Linked DNA regions of Homo sapiens: region 2 is linked to region 1. Evidence: promoter capture Hi-C in 16 types of primary human blood cells and fetal thymus (Javierre and others, 2016). All regions are on one chromosome and are shown on one strand. Each heading gives the region's core, a stretch centred on a gene start or on the middle of the fragment in contact. The rest is flanking DNA. Distances are from core to core; before and after follow the strand shown.

Region 1 (3,697 bases), core at 279-2,778:
TTGGTAGAGAGAGGGTCTCTTGATGTTACCCAGCCTTGTCTTGAACTCCTGGCTTCAAGAGATCCTCCTGCCTTTGCCTCCTAAAGGACTGGGTTACAGGTATGAGCCACCAGACCTTGCCTTATTTTCCAGGTTTTGAGAAGCTACAAGTGAGATAATTATTGCTGCCTGTCTAACCTATTCTCTTCCACACATTGCGGAGGTCACTGGAAGAAACAGTAAATCACAAACTCTTTTTCTTCTATCCATAACTTTTCCTGCCTCATTTAGAATTACCACTCTTGACAACAGGACCCCCCATTTTTGTCTATCACCTTATTAAATCTTCTGTCAAATTGCTTTATTTAAAACATTTTGCAAACTTAGAGAAACTCTGGTTATAACTAAAAATTGTAAGCTGACAGTCATTTTAACTGGTTGCTCTAAGAGGGTGGCAGAATTCCTCTTAAAGAGCAAACTGCTCTTTTGTTGGGAAAGCATTCAGTGGGCTTTTCTGAGTGTGGGGGTGGACCCCAGGAGAGTCTGGGTAGGAGAGGGTCAGCCTGAAAGAGAGCCAAGTTTCTCTGCACCATCAAGTCACAGGAATTTTGGAGTGGGTTCCACCCACCACTGCAGGGCTGAGGAAGGTCAGACCATGAGAGAGAGACATTGAAAACAAAAAGCTTTCTTAGAGTCCAGGGAGCAGGCCCCAGAAATACCCAGTTGAGAGTGCCACCAGTAAGGACTCCTCGAGGGGGAGACTTCAGAAAACTTTAGCAATAGTGTGACCAGGATTCAATTTTAAGTCAGTCCATGTTTTGTGCTATCATTCCTCTACATTGCTCATATAAAACAAGAAAATACAATAACACACTGCTAATCACAAGAGCATTATCATGAAGAAAAGGGTGGTGAGTCCATATTTTGAAGCAAAGCAAACTAGAATGGGCTGGGGCAGCCTGGAAAGGCAGTGGGCAGATGGAGGGAAGAAATTGAAAAAGTCAGGAGCAAGAGAAAAATGGGAAGAACCAAGTCTCAACTCTAGAATCTGCTGGAAAATTGAAGAACACGTTAGACTTCCCACAATTTAGGGGATGGCTGTTAAAGAAAAGGATGGCCTCAGAAGGACAGAAGAGTTAAGGACTTTGGGGTTTTATGGATAATCCTTATATGAAACATTACATGTTTTTTTCACTGCTTAAACAACAGACTTCAGCAATGATGTATGTCAGAGAAATGGGCACAGAAAGTGAGGAAGGACTGTGTGCCTGCAGTTTGTCCCATTAAATTGTGGCAATGAAGGCAGGAAGCCTCGTGTATATTCACATATAATAGTAATAAGAAAAAGATCAACAGAAAGTGATTATGCAACATTCAACATTTTTGCGGTACCCAAAGACTTCATTGAGTTGATTCATCTTAATATTGTCATTTTGATACAAAATATCTTTGCAGGATATTTGTAGGCACAGCTACCCCAAATCCCATTTGCATTAATCTAAAACAGACTTGCAGGCCCAGTTCCAGAAATTCCTTGGGCAAGTCCATAACGCACATTCACCGTCAGGCATGAAGGAATAGCTTATCCAGCAGAAATATCGGAGGCCAGGCCCCAGTACAAACTCCTTCAGACTTCTCAGTACTCAAGACATCTCAAGTTTTTGAAGAGTAAAGTATAAAATACTGGCAGGGGTGGGTAGGGGGAACAGGATAAATTGGTGATGGCCCAGAAAAAATATCCAGGGGGATCGCATTTTTCTTCTCCAAAGCAAAACAGAATTCATAACTGAAAGAGGAATAGAGAAAGAGGAAAAAAGTGATCTGGGACCTGTTGTTTTTCTTGCATCCCATTTCTACTCTGCCTGTGAGTGAAGACTGTTGTGGAAAAGTCAACTGGAGAGACCAGGTCAAAGGCCAAGCAGAAGAGGAATTAGGCTTAAGACTGCACTGAGAGGGAACACTAGACCATGGTGGTAAGTGTTCTTGTTGCATCTGTTGGTCTTTCATTAAATAATGGCATTTCAGCTGGGTTGTAGCCTCCTTAGCTCTCACTCATTGCATCTTTGATGTTTCACCCAAAGGTATAATTATATTGCATTAGTATACTGTTTTGGCCTCTGAAAACCTTAATATTGCTCTCTGGAGAAAGGACAGTTTAATCACTCACATGACATTATGTACATATGTATGTATTTGTATCGTTTTCTTAACTGAAAGTCCTTCTCCCACCTCCTTGACACTCCCAAACTGCTATTTGCTACCCACATTTGTCTTCTGTTGTTGGTTCTTTTCTTTCTACATGAATTTAATACACTTATGGGAATAAAGCTCTTTCTGAAATTGGGAGAAGCCCTCCCAAGTTGTCATCCCAGTTGCCAACTTGGAAACCTGTTTAATTCTGGAAGAAAACCACAACAATCATGTCTCATTTTGGAAAGTATCTTTCAGAGGACATAATCAAAGCAAATTACAAATACAAATTTCTAACTAGGTTTTCTTAGTGTTCAATGAAGTTACTCCAGTGATCCCAAAGACAAGTTAAATATAGCTGTAGGCCCAAGATCATAGAGTTAATTGGTAGATAAGTCATAACTCTAAGGAGTGGGTTCTTCCTCCTTTCTTTCTGTATCCAGCAAATGACTTAATAATTTATAAAACTACATGCTTCTGTCGGGCATATCGGGCATTTTGCTAGGCATAGCCTATATGATTTTAAGCCACATGAACTTTTGAGTTTTTGCAACTGGCTGGGACCTATTTTATGACATTTCATAGAAAGTGCTGTGGTTCTTATGTTCTTCCCAACGTGGAAATGTGATTTCAGGTAGGGTTGAAATCAAGATACTGACTCCTGAACTTCCATCTCTAACCATAATGGGATGACTGATACTGTACTAGCCCAAAACTACTCTAAAACGGGACAGAATATGTGAAGCATCCGATTTCAGGCAGTGGATAACAAGCACTGTAAGGCTGTGCTCCTTGAGAGAAGGGAAGTGCATGAGGTAAGCTACATGATTGCCTCAGCTCTGTGCCTGGAGACAATTTCCTGACCATGGTACAGAGACCTGGAGTCTGAGCAGAGCATGGCAGTCCTGTTGAGCTGGGGAGGCAGACATCAGCGTTCAGGGTAACTGAAGCAAGTAGAAACTATGGAGCCTGAATGGAGGGAGCTATGTAGAGAGAGAGGACCCCAGAATCCAGCAGGGATCTCCTGCAAATCAGTGACTGAGAGTTGGATTGTACATGTGCAGTGTGAGGCGACCCGAGCTTTACTAGATGTCAGATGCTATGCAGTTGAAAGTGGAACCAAGATTCTAGAGGTTGAGCAGTGCTTGGGGAAAAGCAGTGGCAGAGATGTCAGAGTTCTGGCCCTGCCAGAGAGGAGAGATTTATTAACATCTTGTTAAAACTCCTGACATCCAGCTCTGAGACACCACAAAGTGCACATATTAGGATTAAGGAATATGCCCCTTGAGAAAGACCAACTCTAGACTCACCCCAACAAAGCCTGAAACCAAACCCCGACAAGATTTATACAGGAGACACAGTTTGGAAAGTGACTACTGAAAGGTTAGAAGATCTTGAAAACACCTTGGACTGTCCACAGATCTATACTAGCAATGCAAAACACTAAGTCTACACAAGTTAAAGTAATAAGCCATTAAATGAACTGCCACCTCAAATATGAAACAACCATTTTTAGAGGAAGACTACA
Region 2 (3,476 bases), core at 611-3,110, 360 kb before region 1:
AACCATTAAGTTTAGCTTGTGATGCTTATGATTAGATTCACTAATTTGGCATTGCCAGCTCACTTGATGGAGTTATATCCTCTTTATCTAATTTCTTAAGGTCTATCTCAGTTTACGAGTCTCTTAAAATAATTAATCTTCCAAGATCTGATAATTAAACACTGTGTGGAATAAACTGGATCATTTTGAAATAACTGTCAACTCAACATTGCTGCAGTTTCAAAGTCCAACCACAGGTCTTTTTCCCATTAAATCATGTGATGCTGACCAGAATATCAAGATAAAGTACAACCTATACTGTGCTTCTAGGGCTTGGGCTTTAACTTTCACATAAAGGCTCATTAATGATGACCAGGAAGGACCCATGAGCCCAGCTTTAAAATGTATGAGAGTTGTTCCTTTCTGTTGCATGCATCAGGTTGATAAAGTCCACCAGTTTAAGCAGGACCCAGCTTAATACCTACTGAACTTTGCTTAACTTCTGTTGGAGGTTCTCCAGCCTCAACAAAATGGAAGACGTTGACTGAACAGGCATCAAATTGATAAGTCTTTTAATAGAACTTTCACTGAGTTCTGTGACCAAGCATGGCAGATTCTGCAGCAAACACTTAATAGTATCATGGTAACTAGGAATCAAATACCATAGCAACCAACCTGTGAGATACAATCATATATGAAGAGAATATAATTGGAGGAGTGTCTGGCTTCTATGAATTTCTTTCTCTTGTTTAAGATATGTTGGGAAATATTAACTAGCTAGTAATATATAGATACAGACAGATCGCTGTGGAGTTACTAATGGTTATATCCGTTATACTGAAAACAAAATTCTTAGTTGGACTTTCAAGACAAAAAGTAGATCTAGACAAACTGATGAAAGAAGCATTTCATGAATTTCAAAAATATGAGATTCAACTAAAGGAAGCTGAAAAACAAGGTGAGATGACTTACTTTAACAACAGTGTCCCCACTCCCCCAGAAAAAAGAGAAATCTATACAGCATATTTAACAAAGGTGTTGATTAATTTTCTGCTGGAAGGAGAAGCCAAGCCAAGCAATAATGATTTCTGTTTGGTTAGCTAGTGAAGCAAGTAGAAGAATCTCTTTTGAGGTATATTGTCTAGAAGTGTGTTAAGTTTTATTCTTGAAGCTTAACCAAGGCAGCCATAAATGATAGGACTGATCGTGCTTTTGAGGTATTTGCCACAACATTGGTGGAGTGATTGAATTTCTTCCACGCTATAACCAATCCAATGTTAAGAAATGCCTTTATTCAGAGGTAAAAATTTTGATGGCCATGCGAACAACAATAATAATATTCACTGAAAGATACAAATAATTTATAAATGTAAAATTCATCTCTGCATGTTTTTTTTCTTTTTTTGGGACAGAGTTTCACTCTTGTCATTCAGGCTAGAGTGCAATGGCGCCATCTCTGCTCACTGCAACCTCCGCCTCCTGAGTTCAAGCGATTCTCCTGCCTCAGCCTCCCGAGTAGCTGGGATTACAGACATGCACCATCATGCCCGGCTAATTTTTGTATTTTTAGTAGAGACAGGGTTTCGCCATGTTGGCCAGGCTGGTCTGGAACGCCTGACCTCAGGTGATCCGCCCGCCTCAGCCTCCCAAAGTGTTGGGATTACAGGAGTGAGCCACCGCGCCCGACCGATCTCTGCGTGTTTAATGATCTAATAGGGCATAAAATAAATTTGCTTTATGTTTCTGATCATTTGATATTGTCCCACAGATCACTGGGGCTGTTTTTGTTTTTAATTTTTATTCCTTCTGCTTCTCAGACTGGATAAATTCTATATTCAAGTTGGCTCTTCTGCTGTCGCCAATCTTCTTTCAGCTCATCCCAGAGATTTTTCTTTTCCATTTCAGACGCTATAGCTCTTTAGAGAATTTTCAATTCATTTTTAAAATAGCTTCCATTTCTCTGATAGAGTTCCCCAATTTGTTCAGTTATTGACATATTTTAATTTGTCTTCGAATATATATATATATATACCTCTTTAAATGTACTTTTCTGCTAATTCCAAACCTGGAGATTTGCTTCTATTGACTGCATTCTCTTCTGATTTTGGAAATTATCTTCTATGTCTTCACATGCCTAGTAATTTTTTATTTTAATCTGCCATTGTGAAAAATACATTTTAGAGTCTCTAGATTCCTCTGTTCTAGGAGTTCCCTACCTTAATCTTTCAGATATTCTTTCAGCCCCTGACTCCATCCTCTCACACTTCAAATAAAAAACACTGGATTTTTTCGCTCACCTTCTATTTGCCCTGTGCTCTGTGGTATGAGTATTGTCCTCAGTAGAATATCCTTGTAAGTTTAATTCTTACCCAGTGAGTAGTTCCATTTATGACTAGAAACTTCTTCAGTTTCTTTCTTCTTTTGACCACTTTCTGGTGCCTTCAAATAATTGTGTGTGTGTTTGTGTGTGTGTGTGTGTGTATTGTCCAGAGTTTATCATTATTATCTGAAAAAGGCATAGTCAGATAATGTACTTTTTATTACTGGACTCAGAACACCCATTCAAGAATATACACTTAAAACAAGCTTTTTGGGTTATACTTATGCACTCCAAAGTTTGACAGGTGCTGTCTTAGATTAAACTTCCATGCTTAACTTTGTCTTTTGAGAAGTCATCTTCCTCACTACGAACAAGAATTTAAACTCTTCAGGTTCATTAATCACACTCCCTGAAATCTAAAATAAAGTCATATAAACTTGGTAAATATACTCTTACCCACAGTGTTTTCCTTATTACTACATTTTTCCAAAAGGACTGGAAACTATTTGTTGAAAATTAGAGAAGCATTGAATATAGTGGAAATAATACAGTGTGGTTCCATAACAATTAGTTGTTACGTTTAAAATATGACACTCCTTAAGGTAAAATTTAATAATACCAAAAGTACCCTAGAAAACTGATGAAATGGTAACAAAATTTGAGATTATACTTTGATAGAATAATTTTTGTCCACATTAAAGTTTGACATCTACGGAGCTAGACAAGGGAGTAATACAAAGAAACTCCCCAAGCAGATGAGTAGATATTTGAACTATCTTGCTGTCAAAATAACTATAAAATTTCAAGATGTTGAATGGGGGATAGGTAGACAATTCTTTAAAGGTCTGATTATTTAGGCAATGACTCCTCTTGTGGTTTGGAATATGACATGTTGACAATCAAAACTTAGTTCTACTACTTACTAGCCATGTGATCTTCAGCAATTTACTTAACCTTTCTGGGCTTCGGTTTCCTCATCTATAAAAATAGGGAATATATTACCTTTCTCTTGTAATATGAATGCCAAAATGCCTGGAATGTATCTTGCCAGAAGGAAGGGTCCAGCCAAGACTATTCCTTTATCTAAGAGTGTTCCCCAAGCTTTGGTCTCAAAAGGCCCAGGCTAATGCATTTCTTACTATTGGTCTGAAATTCTATGTTCTCCTAAGACATAGTT

Evidence for each region. Contacts are between HindIII fragments. The CHiCAGO score rates a contact against its expected background, and 5 or more counts as called.
Region 2: a contact is called between a fragment that was not itself captured here and the fragment with the promoter of PTCSC3 in region 1, in 1 of 17 cell types (M2 macrophages). The highest score is 5.7, in M2 macrophages.

The regions. Positions count from the first base shown.
Region 1 is chr14:36,174,553-36,178,249 of GRCh38, reverse strand. It overlaps PTCSC3 (papillary thyroid carcinoma susceptibility candidate 3), which reads left to right and starts at 1,528. Exons shown (of 4, transcript NR_049735.3): 1 at 1,528-1,952. The HindIII fragment of the contact is 5,859 bases long and covers 665-3,697 here.
Region 2 is chr14:36,531,112-36,534,587 of GRCh38, reverse strand. The region is part of intron 1 of LOC105370453 (a long non-coding RNA gene); the gene reads right to left. It also overlaps the pseudogene PHKBP2. Among named protein-coding and RNA genes, the nearest start is that of NKX2-1, 13 kb to the right of the region's middle. The HindIII fragment of the contact is 1,415 bases long and covers 1,153-2,567 here.